Regions from separate parts of the Homo sapiens genome. Here all the other regions are linked to region 1. Evidence: promoter capture Hi-C in 16 types of primary human blood cells and fetal thymus (Javierre and others, 2016). All regions are on one chromosome and are shown on one strand. The core of a region is centred on a gene start or on the middle of the fragment in contact, and the rest is flanking DNA. Distances in the headings are between cores, read along the strand shown.

Region 1 (3,983 bases), core at 371-2,870:
AAAGGAATTATAAATGTGGAGATTATTTTCCTTATGGAATTATGGAAGGGTGTAGACCCAGCTCTGTCTGAAACCAGTAATTAATTACCCATTTCCATGTATGAGTCAGTACAGGATTCTCTGGTTTATTTTTGCTTAAATCGGTTAACTTGGGATTTACTGTTAGAGTATGATTAACATAAATACACATTTCCATAGATGGTACAAATGAGTATCTTAAGATACTGTACATGAGGGAAAAAAATTGTTATTGGAAAAAAAGCTAGCTTTTCTTAACAAGAGCTTTGCTTTTCTCTTACGGACATTGCAAATTTTGCAATTAATTTTACTTCTCTCTTTGCTCTAGGAAGCTGAAAACAAAATTGGTGACATGGTTAGAGTAACTGAAGGTGACCCTTTATTATGGATTTTGTATGCTATCCCACTCCTTGATTCATTTTATTTCATCCTCATCTTATCTTTATTCTATTTTCATTTTTTTACTGTGAAGGGATCAGCTAAAAATTAACAAAAGAAGATATTCTCAAGTAATTAACACAAAAAAAGAGATCGATTGTATTGTTCTTGCATAAAAGTCTAAATGTAATGGAAAAGGAATATTCTAAAGTAATAGTACATTATCCAAATGAGAAACAAATAAATTATTAATTTCAAAACATTTGCAAACAATTCAAAAATCAAAATTAAATCACAAAACAACAGTATATATACACATATATTTTCAATGGACTAAAATACCTTTGATTACTATGTTCTTCATTTGAAGAAATAGTGAAAAATGCTAATATATCCAAAAGAATTGAAAGCAGGGTCTCAAAGAAATATATGCACACCCATGTTCATGGCAGCACTGTTCACAACAGTCAAGAAATGGAAGCAACTCAAATGTCCACGAATACTTGAATGAATAAACAAAACGTGGTGTATACATATGTTGGACTATTATTCAGCCTTAAAAAGGAAAGAAGTCCTGTCACATGTTACAATATGGATGAACCTTGAGGAACCATCCACGGATGCTTGAATGAATAAACAAAACGTGGTGTATACATACGATGGACTAGTATTCAGCCTTAAAAAGGAAATAAATCTTGTCACATGCTACAACATGGATGAACCTTGAGGACATTGTGCTAAGTGAAATAGGCCAGTCACAAAAAGACAAATACTTTACGAGTCCACTTACACGAAATATCTAAAGTAGTGAAATTCATAGAAATAGAAAATAGGACTGTGGTTACCAGAGACTGGAGTGACGGTGAAAAGCGGAGTTGTTGTCTAATGGGTATAGAGTTTCTGTTTTCCAAGATGAAAAATTTGTAACAATGTGAATATACTTAACATTACTGAAATGTACATTTAATCATAGTTAATATGGTAATTTTAAATATTATGTTGTGTGTTTTTTAACCAGAGTAAAAAAGGGTAAAAAGGTAATATATTTTAGGGCTTAAAATAGTTATTTTTTTCCAAGATGAAAGCTATGAGTAAACTTAAACCAGAAAATCGACTAGTTTTAAATCTACAGAATAAACAGTAGAGCCTTCCTTTTAGCCACATGATGTCGCTGTCCACCATAGAGTGTTCTCTAGGAAGGAAAATACCCAGAGCCCCTTTGTTACTTCAGAGAAGCGGAGGAATAAGAGAAGCAGCAGGACTTTAACAGAGACTAGAATATTTAAATTTTTGCAAAACATGCTCTTCTAATTTGATCAAAACATTGAGGATTGGTAATGGCGTCTTCTATCAGAAGGGGCCGAGGGGCCTGGACACGGCTGCTCTCGCTTCTGCTCCTCGCAGCCTGGGAGGTGGGGAGCGGCCAGCTCCGCTACTCCGTCCCCGAGGAGGCCAAACACGGCACCTTCGTGGGCCGCATCGCGCAGGACCTGGGGCTGGAGCTGGAGGAGCTGGTGCCGCGCCTGTTCCGGGTGGCGTCCAAAAGACACGGGGACCTTCTGGAGGTAAATCTGCAGAATGGCATTTTGTTTGTGAATTCTCGGATCGACCGGGAGGAGCTGTGCGGGCGGAGCGCGGAATGTAGCATCCACGTGGAGGTGATCGTGGACAGGCCGCTGCAGGTTTTCCATGTGGAAGTGGAGGTGAAGGACATTAACGACAACCCGCCAATATTTCCAATGACAGTAAAGACTATCCGGTTTCCCGAATCAAGGCTGCTTGATTCTCGGTTTCCTCTAGAGGGAGCATCTGATGCAGATATAGGAGTAAATGCTCTTCTCTCCTACAAGCTCAGCTCCAGTGAGTTTTTCTTCCTAGATATACAGGCAAATGATGAACTAAGCGAATCTTTGTCTCTCGTGCTGGGGAAATCGCTGGACAGAGAGGAAACTGCTGAGGTTAATTTGTTACTGGTGGCTACTGATGGGGGCAAACCTGAGCTCACGGGCACCGTTCAAATACTTATTAAGGTATTAGATGTAAATGACAATGAACCAACTTTTGCCCAATCAGTTTACAAAGTAAAATTGTTAGAGAATACGGCAAATGGGACCTTAGTGGTTAAGTTAAACGCTTCTGATGCAGATGAAGGACCGAACAGCGAGATTGTGTATTCACTCGGTAGTGATGTGTCCTCCACTATACAGACTAAGTTTACCATAGATCCCATCTCAGGGGAAATCAGAACTAAGGGAAAATTAGATTATGAAGAAGCAAAGTCCTACGAGATTCAGGTCACTGCAACTGACAAAGGAACCCCTTCAATGTCAGGACATTGTAAAATTTCATTAAAACTTGTGGACATCAATGATAACACACCAGAAGTCTCAATAACGTCTCTCTCACTTCCCATCTCAGAGAACGCTTCCCTGGGCACTGTCATTGCTCTCATCACGGTGTCGGATCGCGACTCTGGTACGAATGGACATGTCACCTGCTCCCTGACGCCCCACGTCCCTTTCAAGCTGGTGTCCACCTTCAAGAATTACTACTCGTTGGTGCTGGACAGCGCCCTGGACCGCGAGAGCGTGTCAGCCTATGAGCTGGTGGTGACCGCACGGGACGGGGGCTCGCCTTCACTGTGGGCCACCACCAGCGTGTCCATCGAGGTGGCCGACGTGAACGACAACGCGCCGGCGTTCGCACAGCCTGAGTACACAGTATTCGTGAAGGAGAACAACCCGCCGGGCTGCCACATCTTCACGGTGTCAGCGTGGGATGCGGACGCGCAGGAGAACGCGCTGGTGTCCTACTCGCTGGTGGAGCGGCGGGTGGGCGAGCGCGCGTTGTCGAGCTACGTTTCGGTGCACGCGGAGAGCGGCAAGGTGTACGCGCTGCAGCCGCTGGACCACGAGGAAGTGGAGCTGCTGCAGTTCCAGGTGAGCGCGCGGGATGCGGGCGTGCCGCCTCTGGGCAGCAACGTGACGCTGCAGGTGTTCGTGCTGGACGAGAACGACAACGCGCCGGCACTGTTGGCGCCTAGGGCTGGCACCGCTGCTGGCGCAGTGAGTGAGCTGGTGCCGTGGTCGGTGGGTGCAGGGCACGTGGTGGCGAAGGTGCGCGCAGTGGACGCTGACTCAGGCTACAACGCGTGGCTTTCGTACGAGCTTCAGCTGGGTACTGGCAGCGCTCGCATCCCGTTCCGCGTGGGGCTATACACGGGTGAGATCAGCACGACACGTGCCCTAGACGAGGCTGACTCCCCTCGACACCGCCTACTCGTGCTGGTGAAGGACCACGGCGAACCAGCGTTGACAGCCACGGCCACCGTGTTAGTGTCGTTGGTGGAAAGTGGCCAGGCACCCAAGGCCTCGTCGCGGGCGTGGGTGGGCGCCGCGGGCTCAGAGGCTACGCTGGTGGATGTCAACGTGTACCTGATCATCGCCATCTGCGCGGTATCCAGCCTGTTGGTGCTCACGGTGCTGCTGTACACTGCGCTGCGGTGCTCGGTGCCACCCACCGAGGGTGCGCGCGCGCCAGGAAAGCCCACGCTGGTGTGCTCCAGCGCCGTGGGGAGCTGGTCTTAC
Region 2 (4,124 bases), core at 845-3,344, 520 kb after region 1:
CTCCCAAATTGCTGGGATTACAGGCGTAAGCCACCATGCCCAGCCGGGTGTTCTTTTACAAGTAGAAAGACATCTATTAAAATTAGTGTAAGACTATTGCCTGACATGAGTTTCCAGTTAAGGGGTACCTGAAACTTCAACATGAGAATATGTTGTCTGCAAACTAGAATTTGAAAAGCAATGCTTATTTTTCCCTAGATATTAAAATTAGAACAAAAAAAGACACCACCATGTAGCTGATCTTACAGAATGATTTAGAAAAGAAAGAGGAAGTCTTTCATCATCTCATTATGACCACCAGAGGTGAAACAGTGAGAGGAACTCACATACCCATAACTAAAGATAAATGTAAATGACAGTGTCCCAGTATGCCCCAGTTCCATTAAACAAAGTTATTTGGAGGAAAATATCACATTGGAAACCATACTCCATAACACCAAGGCCAGGGATCAGTACAAGAACATTAATACCTTCAATGAATTGTCAGGCATAATAACACAAGTAACAGAGGCAGATTCCCTGAGGTCAAATTCTATGAAATACATTTGACCATACAGTTGGACTTGGAGAAAACAGAGCCAAGCATATACAGTAACATTGCCCAAGATAATAGGCAATCTTAAGCAATTAAAACCATTTCCCTGATTCCAACTAACCAGAATGATGCTGCTTCTGTTTTTAAGCACATATCCTCCAGAACACATATATTAGAAAATAGTAGCAAAGAACCTTCCAACTTTTTAATGAAGACCACTGCACTTGACATAGCACCTGACATGATGAAACATCTAAATCACATGCTTCTTAAGAATTAGATTGAATGGCCAGATAGGGTTACCAGAGAAAATAAGGGTTGAGTTGGGCCTTCAGTGACAAAAAGCTATCCATGAGAATATCTGGTGACTATTCCAAGAAAAGAGAACTGTAAGTGCTAAACTGTAGGAGGAAAGAGCTGAGTAAATTTGTTTATGCTGCAGATAAATTTGAAGCAAACCGTTTCTGCTGTAACCTAATTTATAAGCTTTCATTTAGAATTTTTTTTCCCATCTGAATTTGGTTGAAACTGATCTCTAAAATTTCTTAAATTTGAAAACAATTACATTTAGAATAGTTGTTTCCCTATAAACACTTTTTCTAACATTTCAGTCACTCTTTAATTATTTAGTATCTGTTATGGTCCATACCTTAATGGGTTGTAATAGTGGTAAATTTACTTCTGTTGTTTACTTACTATGTTCCAGGCATTGTTCTAAATAAGTCATTTATATGATTCAGCAGCCAGCAGCCAACAGCCCAATAACCCTATGAGGTAGGTAGTATTATTGCCTCCACTTTGGAGATGAGAAAATTGAGGTAAACAGATTGCTACCTGTGCAAGGTCACACAACTAATAGGTAACTGAGCTAGGATACGAACCATGCATGACATGTCTTGATGTTAAGATTTTGATCTTTCTACTATTCTTCAGTAAGTTTACAGTCACTAATGTAGCAAAATATCTCAGTAAATTTAAAGCCAAGCAGGAGATACGAACAAAGGTAATTTACACTTTAGTTATAACAGATACTCATCCCAGTAGACCGTGCAGTGCATGAGTTTATAGACACTAAATGCTTTGTTCATCACTGCATATCCAGTAGCTTGTAGTTTGGTGCGCGCGCACACACACACACACACACACACACACCCCTTGTAGTTTGGCACACACACACACAAAATGTTTGTCAAATAAATGAGAGAGGGAAGAACAAAGTGCAAAGCCGTAATAGGGTTGCTTAACCTAGAGGGAGAAAAGGGTCAGAAAAGCCTTGCTGAAGTCACTTAGGTTGAGACCTGAGGGTTAAGTAGGACTCAGACAAAGGGTAAAGTCATCTAGGTGGAGTGAACTGCTTGTTAAAAGGATCTATGGCCCAGGAGTGGGAGAATGAGTAAGCTCCTTGAAAAAAATGTAAGTTCAGAGTGGACTGACCATATACTGAATGCGGAGCTGAGGCTGAAAAGGTAAATGGAGAACTCATAATCTTGTGCATCTTTTTGAGAAATACAAACCTAGCCCTGAGAGCAATGAGATGTCACTGAAGGGTTTTCAGCATGGTAGTAACACAATCAAATATGTCTCAGAAAAATGAGTTTGGTGGCAGTGAAAACTAAATTGGATGGTAAAGAAGCTATTGCCATTTGATAGATAATAATAATGGCTTGAAATAGGACAGTGGCTGTAAGGATGAAGTAGAGTGAGTGAAGAACTTCTTAAGTAAAATCAAAAGTAGCAAGGGAAAGGGAGAAATGTAAAGTTATGGCTCTAGTGTCCAGCTTCCACAGTTGGGATGTGTGGTGGTGCCATTTATTTTTACTGGAACCCAGAAGGAAAAGCAAATTTTCAAGGAAGAGGAAAAGTTCCATTTTGAACCTGTATTTTTTTTTTTGAGATGGAGTTTTGTTCTGTTGCCCAGGCTGGAGCACAGTAGCATGATCTCGGCTCACTGCAACATCCACCTCCCAGGTTCAAGCTATTCTCCCACCTCACCCTCCCAAGTAGCTGGGATTACAGGTGCCCACCACCATGCCCAGCTAATTTGTTTTGTATTTTTAATAGAGATGGGTTTTGCCATGTTGGCCAGGCTGGTCTTGAACTCCTGACCTCAGGTGATCCACCTGCCTCAGCCTCCCAAGGTGTTGAGATATAGGCATGAGCCACTGCACCCGGCCATTTTGAACATTTACACTTGAGTTGCCTGAGAGATACTTTCAAGTATGTTTCTAGTACACATCTGGCTAAACTAAACCTGAAGCACAGAAGAATCAAGGTTGGAAACGTGGATTTTAGAATCCACTTAGAACTCATAACTGAAACAGGAATAGTGAGATCAATATACTATTTTGTTATTGTATCCAGAATCTTTCCTTTCTGTTATTGATGGAACTGCCACCATTGGTGTTGAGACCTTGGTAAGAATAAACTACTTGATAAATGATCCACTGTAAAGCCAGATATGGTGGGAGCTTTTCAGGTGTCAATCTTCTAAGTGTAGCAAAATACCTAGATTACAAAAACAGTAAATTTTGTCACCTAGCATCCTAAACTGTTTTTTTGTTGTTGTTTAATATATATTATTTGGAAACCTCAAGAAATAATATAAAACCTAGATATTGAGGGAAACCTTGCTTAAGCTTACATATTCTGTGCTAAAATCCTAGTCACGGCCAGGCACGGTGGCCCACGCCTGTAATCCCAGCACTTTGGGAGGCCGAGGCGGGTGGATCACAAGGTCAAGAGATCAAGACCATCCTGGCCAACATGGTGAAACCCCGTCTCTACTAAAATTACAAAAATTAGCTGGGCTTGGTGGCACATGCCTGTAGTCCCAGCTACTCCAGAGGCTGAGGCAGGAGAATCGCTTGAACCCAGGAGGCAGAGGTTGCAATGAGCCAAGATAACGCCACTGCACTCCAGCCTGGCAACACAGCAAGACTCCATCTAAAAAAAAAAAAAAAACTTACTCATAAAAACGTTTCACTTAAAAAGATAAATTAGCCTTCTGAAGTCTGCAAATGTCAGCATATTTAATTATAGACCTGAGGACTAGGTAACTTTTTTTTTTTTTTTAACATTTCAATACTGTTTCTTGTCAGATAGAAGTAAAATGGACTTTAGGCCGGGTGTGGTAGCTCAGGCCTGTAATCCCACCACTTTGGGAGTCCAGGGTGGGCAGATCACCTGAGGTCATGAGTTCAAGACCAGCCTGACCAACATGGTGAAACCCTGTCTCTACTAAAACTACAAAATTAGCCAGGTGTGGTGGCACATGCCTGTAATCCCGGCTACTCGGGAGGCTGAGGCAGGAAAATCGCTTGAACCCAGGAGGCAGAGGCTGCAGTGAGCCGAGATCACACCACTGCACTCCAGCCTGGGCAACAATAGCAAAACTTTGTCTTAAAAAAAAAAAAAAAGAGGCCGGGCGCGCTGGCTCATGCCTGTAATCCCAACACTCTGGGAGGCCAAGGCGGGCAGATCATGAGGTCAGGAGATCAAGATCATCCTGGCTAACACAGTGAAACCCCGTCTCTACTAAAAATACACAAAAAAATTAGCTGGGCATGGTGGCGGGCACCTGAGTAGTCCC
Region 3 (4,427 bases), core at 1,462-3,961, 540 kb after region 1:
AGCTGACGTGGGAGGATCCCTTGAGCCCAGGAAGTCAAGGCTTCAGCGAACCGTGATCGCGCCACTGCCCTCCAGCCTGGGCGACAGAGCCACACCCTGTTAAATAAATAAATATAATAATAAAAGCTGTTTCCCAATTCCGGTGGTTATAACTTTCTTCGTAAGCTGTGTAGACCAAGAGAGAGAGACAGACACGGATGCTGGATAGAGACAGCGAACACCAAGTATCTCATATGTGAGCTGTGGTATCCAGAATATCACTGCTGTGCATCATTAAAGCGTCATTAAGAGACCTAGTTATGGCCTGGGACCTGAGGTCAGATAGAAACTATTTCAAAACCATTACAAATGAGCACTGAACCCAGGAGGGAAGGAGAGAGGGATATAGTGTAGAAGAGAAAAAAACAAACTAAAACTAAAAACAAACAGAGCTCTTCCACTAAAAATAAATATACAAACCAAAATTTCAAAACACACTTGTCTCGTAGAATTTATTGTTACTAGTGAGAAACTTTCTGTCAACACACTGTTATTTTTTAAGGTAATCTCTGTTTTCTCTCTGGTAACTATTGAAGACTTTCTCTCATTCTTGCTGTGTGTCTGTTGCATTTTTATTTTTATTTTTTGCTTGGTACCAAGAGTATACTCTCAATTGATAACTAAGTTATCTCACTTCTGGACTTTCTCAGCTCTTATAATCATAATTTTTTTTCTGTGTATATACAAGTGAGCTACATTTACCTATTAAAGGACAAATATTACAAAACTGGTTGATTTTTAAAATCCATATTCTAATAATACACGTGCTTAAAATAAAAATACACTGAAACAGTGAAACTAAATATATATGTACACACACAAAAAAGAAAGTCATGTTAATGTAACAACAAAGTCATATTTAAGGTAACAAACACAAATTGTGATTTTAAAAAATGAACTGATTATAGTTGTAAAAAGAGCAGATGATCAAAAGGATATAAAAATATAAGCTTCTATTACTGAAAAATATAGCTTAGAAAATACCGGAATATTTAAACATAATTCCATAAGAAATAATAGACCCCACAGGAAGAAAGTTAGTTAACATAAAGAAGATTTGAACAACATAATTTAGAAGCTTGATCTATTAGGATTCTAATAGATCCGTTCTGCACACAACAAATATGGAATAGTCATCCTTGAACAAGCAGACAATCTACAAGTTTATTACCTAGTCATTACAAAAAAGGGTTCAGCAAATTGCAAAGTACCAATAATATACTTGCCTTACAACACATACTTAATCACAAAGCAAACATTTAAAAATAGAAAAGGGAAAAAGTTTGGATATTTACATCTACACCCTTAAATAACTCTTGGATTTCAAAAATCACAATGACAATGAAAACTACTCAGAAAAAAAGGACTTAAATATTCTTTATTAAAAATTGTGAGATGCAACTAAAACTAATTAGGAGTAAGTTTATAGACAAATGCAATAATTTTTTTAAAAGCAAACAAAATTATTTAAAATACATGAATTTAGCTTGCCATTCAAGAAGTAAGATAAAAAACATACAATGAGTATATACTAAAATAAAATGATGGAAAAAATAACAAAGAGTTACATTTTTGAAATGCAACCATGGAAGAGTTCTGAGGATGAAATAATGGAAGCAGACAATAAATGTAATAAAACCAGTGGGGAGAAAATGAAAATTCTGTCAAGTCTAACGTTAGGACTCATGTAAGAGAGCCAGGCACAATGGCACACCTATAATCCCAGGTACTGAGTAGGCTGAGGCAGTAGGATTGCTTGAGCCCAGGAGTTTGAATCCAGCCGGGGCAGTATAACAAGACCCAATCTCTATAAAACAAAAAAACACAAACACAAACACAAAAATAAAAATAAAAAACAAAAGCAAAATATACCATAGTAGCTCTACAAGAAAACATGGTGAGTTGGTATCAATTATTTCCAATATATTTTTCTTCAGTCTTGTAAGAGGAATGGATGAAAGTAAAAATGAGAAAATTTCAATAAGGAAGGAGCCAAAAGGCAAACAGATTAAAGTGTCACCAGAAATGGGCAATTCCACTTATGCCACATACAAAAATTAATTCAAAATGGATCAAAGAAGCAATATTCAGAAGCAATAAAACCCTTTTAGTTATTATGTTTAAGAACTAAAACTATACAACTCTTAGAAGAAAACAGGAGGAAACCTTCATAACATTGATTTTTGGCAATGATTTCTTGGATATGACACCAAAAGCACAAGCAACAAAAGAAAAAAATTGTATACTGGACTTTATCACAGTTAAAAACTATATGCAGCAAAGAACAATATCAATAGAGTGAAAAGGCAGCCCACAGAAAGAGAGAAAATGTTTCCAAATCATGTATCTGAGAATGGATATCCAGAATAAAGAACTCGAACTCAACAACAAAGAATCCCAAACAATTGGATGTTAAAATGAGCAAAGGACTTGAATAGACATTTCTCCAAAGATGATATACAAATGGCCAAAACCATATGAAACAATGTTCAACATCACTAGTCATTAGGGAAATGCAAATCAAAACCATAATGAGATACTACTCCACATTCATTAGAATTGCTGTCATAAAAGAAAAGAAAAGAAATGTTAACAAGAATATGGAGAAATTGGAATTCTTGTGCATTGCTGGTGAATATAAAATGACACAACTGCTGTGGAAAATGGTATGGTGACTCCTCAAAAATTTAAACATAGAATTACCATATAATCCAGCAATTCCACTCTGGTTATTACCCAAAAGAAGTGAAAATAGGGACTTCAACAGATATTTGTACACCTATGTTTATGGCATCATTAGTCACAATAGTTGAAAAGTGGAAGTAACCCAAGTGTCCATTGACAGATGAATGGGTAAATAAAAAGTGGTTCACACATACAATGGGCTGTTATTTAGCCTTAAAAAGGAAGGGAATTCTGTTACATGCTACAATATGGACGAACTTCAAAGACATGATATCAAGTGAAATAAACCTGTTATAAAATGACAAATACTGTATGATTCCTCATATATGAAGTTCCTAGATTAGTCAAATTCATAGAGAAAAAAGGTAGAATGGTAGTTGCCAGGGACTGGGTGAAAGGCAATGGGGAGTTGCTATTTAATAAGTACAGAGTTTCAGTTGGGGAGGATGAAAAAGTTCTGGAAGTGGATGGTGGTAATGGTCACACCAGAATGTAATTTGAATGTACTTAATGTCACAGAATTGTATGCTTGACTATGGTCAAAATGGTAAAGATGAAACAAGAGTAAGAAGACATCCACTGCATTGTATTTTACACCCTTGGAAAATGAATATCAGAAAAAGAACTTGACAACCTCAAACAATTTTGAGTGACTGATTCCTAGTGTGGTGAAAAACCCCTTCCGGCTCTAGCTTTATCAAATAGACCTGCTTTCTGTTTCTGTAATGTTCCATGCTGTCTCTTACCTTCAAGCATTTGTTCAGAGGTTCTAGAACACTTCTTCAGCCTTTTTCTTGATTCAATCCTACTTTTTATGATTCAGCTTCAATCATGCCCTCAAAAAGACTTTTCTGACCCCAAATCTAGACTGGATACCCCTCCTAGGTATTCCTCCATCACCCAGTGTTTCCTACCTCATATCACAGCAGTTACCATACTCTATTATACTCTCTTTACTTTCTTATGTCCTCCTCCAACCTTCACGCTTGAGACCAGGGCCTGTGTTTATCATGTTCACCATTTCTAGCTCCAGCTGCAATCATGCAAAGTGGGAGGCACATGTACCCAATTAAGTGTCTGATGATTCAATAATTTAAAGGCAGATTTTGAAGGTAAATGCAAAGCCATCAACCATAAACGTTCAAAATATATAACCTTAGAAGAAAACGTAGCTAACGTTTCTTAATTGATCTTACTGCTTCTGATTATACAATAAGAGATGGAAGATGTTTGGAGCAAGGGCAGTGGTGGCATTGATTAATGCCTTGAGCAGTCAATAATACTTTCCTAGCAACTATTATCAAGATCATGTTCATTTATACCATTCTTATTAATCCTGATAAAAAGATTCCTGTTTTGAAAGATCTAATTCTAGGGTATCTTAGAGCTGTAAGATTCTTTAAAGCGCCTTGAAAGTCAACAAAGGCAAACAAACAAGAAGTAACTTAGGTTTTCCTGAGCAGGTGCAGAAATTATTTAGGCCTCTGAGCGTCGCTGTTGACCACCTAAGGAGTAAAAGGCAGCGAGACATCCAATCCAGCAATACGGCTCCCACAGCACAAGGGGGTGGAGGTTTGGCCCTAAAGCTTCAGGACACCAAAGAAATTCAGTCGAACAGCCCACCAGTTCTCTCCATAGGGACCTGGGTCCCGTGAATGCTGGTTATCTCACACCCTGAGGAATAAAGATTGGAATCCGCACTG

Evidence for each region. The method cuts DNA at HindIII sites, captures the fragments that hold promoters and counts their contacts. A CHiCAGO score of 5 or more calls a contact.
Region 2: a contact is called between a fragment that was not itself captured here and the fragment with the promoter of PCDHA2 in region 1, in 6 of 17 cell types (M2 macrophages, M0 macrophages, M1 macrophages and 3 more). The highest score is 18.7, in M2 macrophages.
Region 3: a fragment that was not itself captured here is called in contact with the fragment with the promoter of PCDHA2 in region 1 in 6 of 17 cell types (M1 macrophages, erythroblasts, M2 macrophages and 3 more); the score reaches 13.8 in M1 macrophages.

Annotation. Positions count from the first base shown.
Region 1 is chr5:140,793,232-140,797,214 of GRCh38, forward strand. PCDHA2 (protocadherin alpha 2) reads left to right here and starts at 1,621. Exons shown (of 4, transcript NM_018905.3): 1 at 1,621-3,983. The coding sequence starts at 1,734. The region is part of intron 1 of PCDHA1 (protocadherin alpha 1); the gene reads left to right. It also overlaps PCDHA@. The HindIII fragment of the contact is 8,329 bases long and covers 1-3,983 here.
Region 2 is chr5:141,313,613-141,317,736 of GRCh38, forward strand. No RefSeq gene overlaps it. Among named protein-coding and RNA genes, the nearest start is that of TAF7, 5.1 kb to the right of the region's middle. The HindIII fragment of the contact is 2,150 bases long and covers 1,020-3,169 here.
Region 3 is chr5:141,334,503-141,338,929 of GRCh38, forward strand. The region is part of intron 1 of PCDHGA1 (protocadherin gamma subfamily A, 1); the gene reads left to right. It overlaps PCDHGA2 (protocadherin gamma subfamily A, 2), which reads left to right and starts at 4,258. Exons shown (of 4, transcript NM_018915.4): 1 at 4,258-4,427. It also overlaps PCDHG@. The HindIII fragment of the contact is 3,193 bases long and covers 1,116-4,308 here.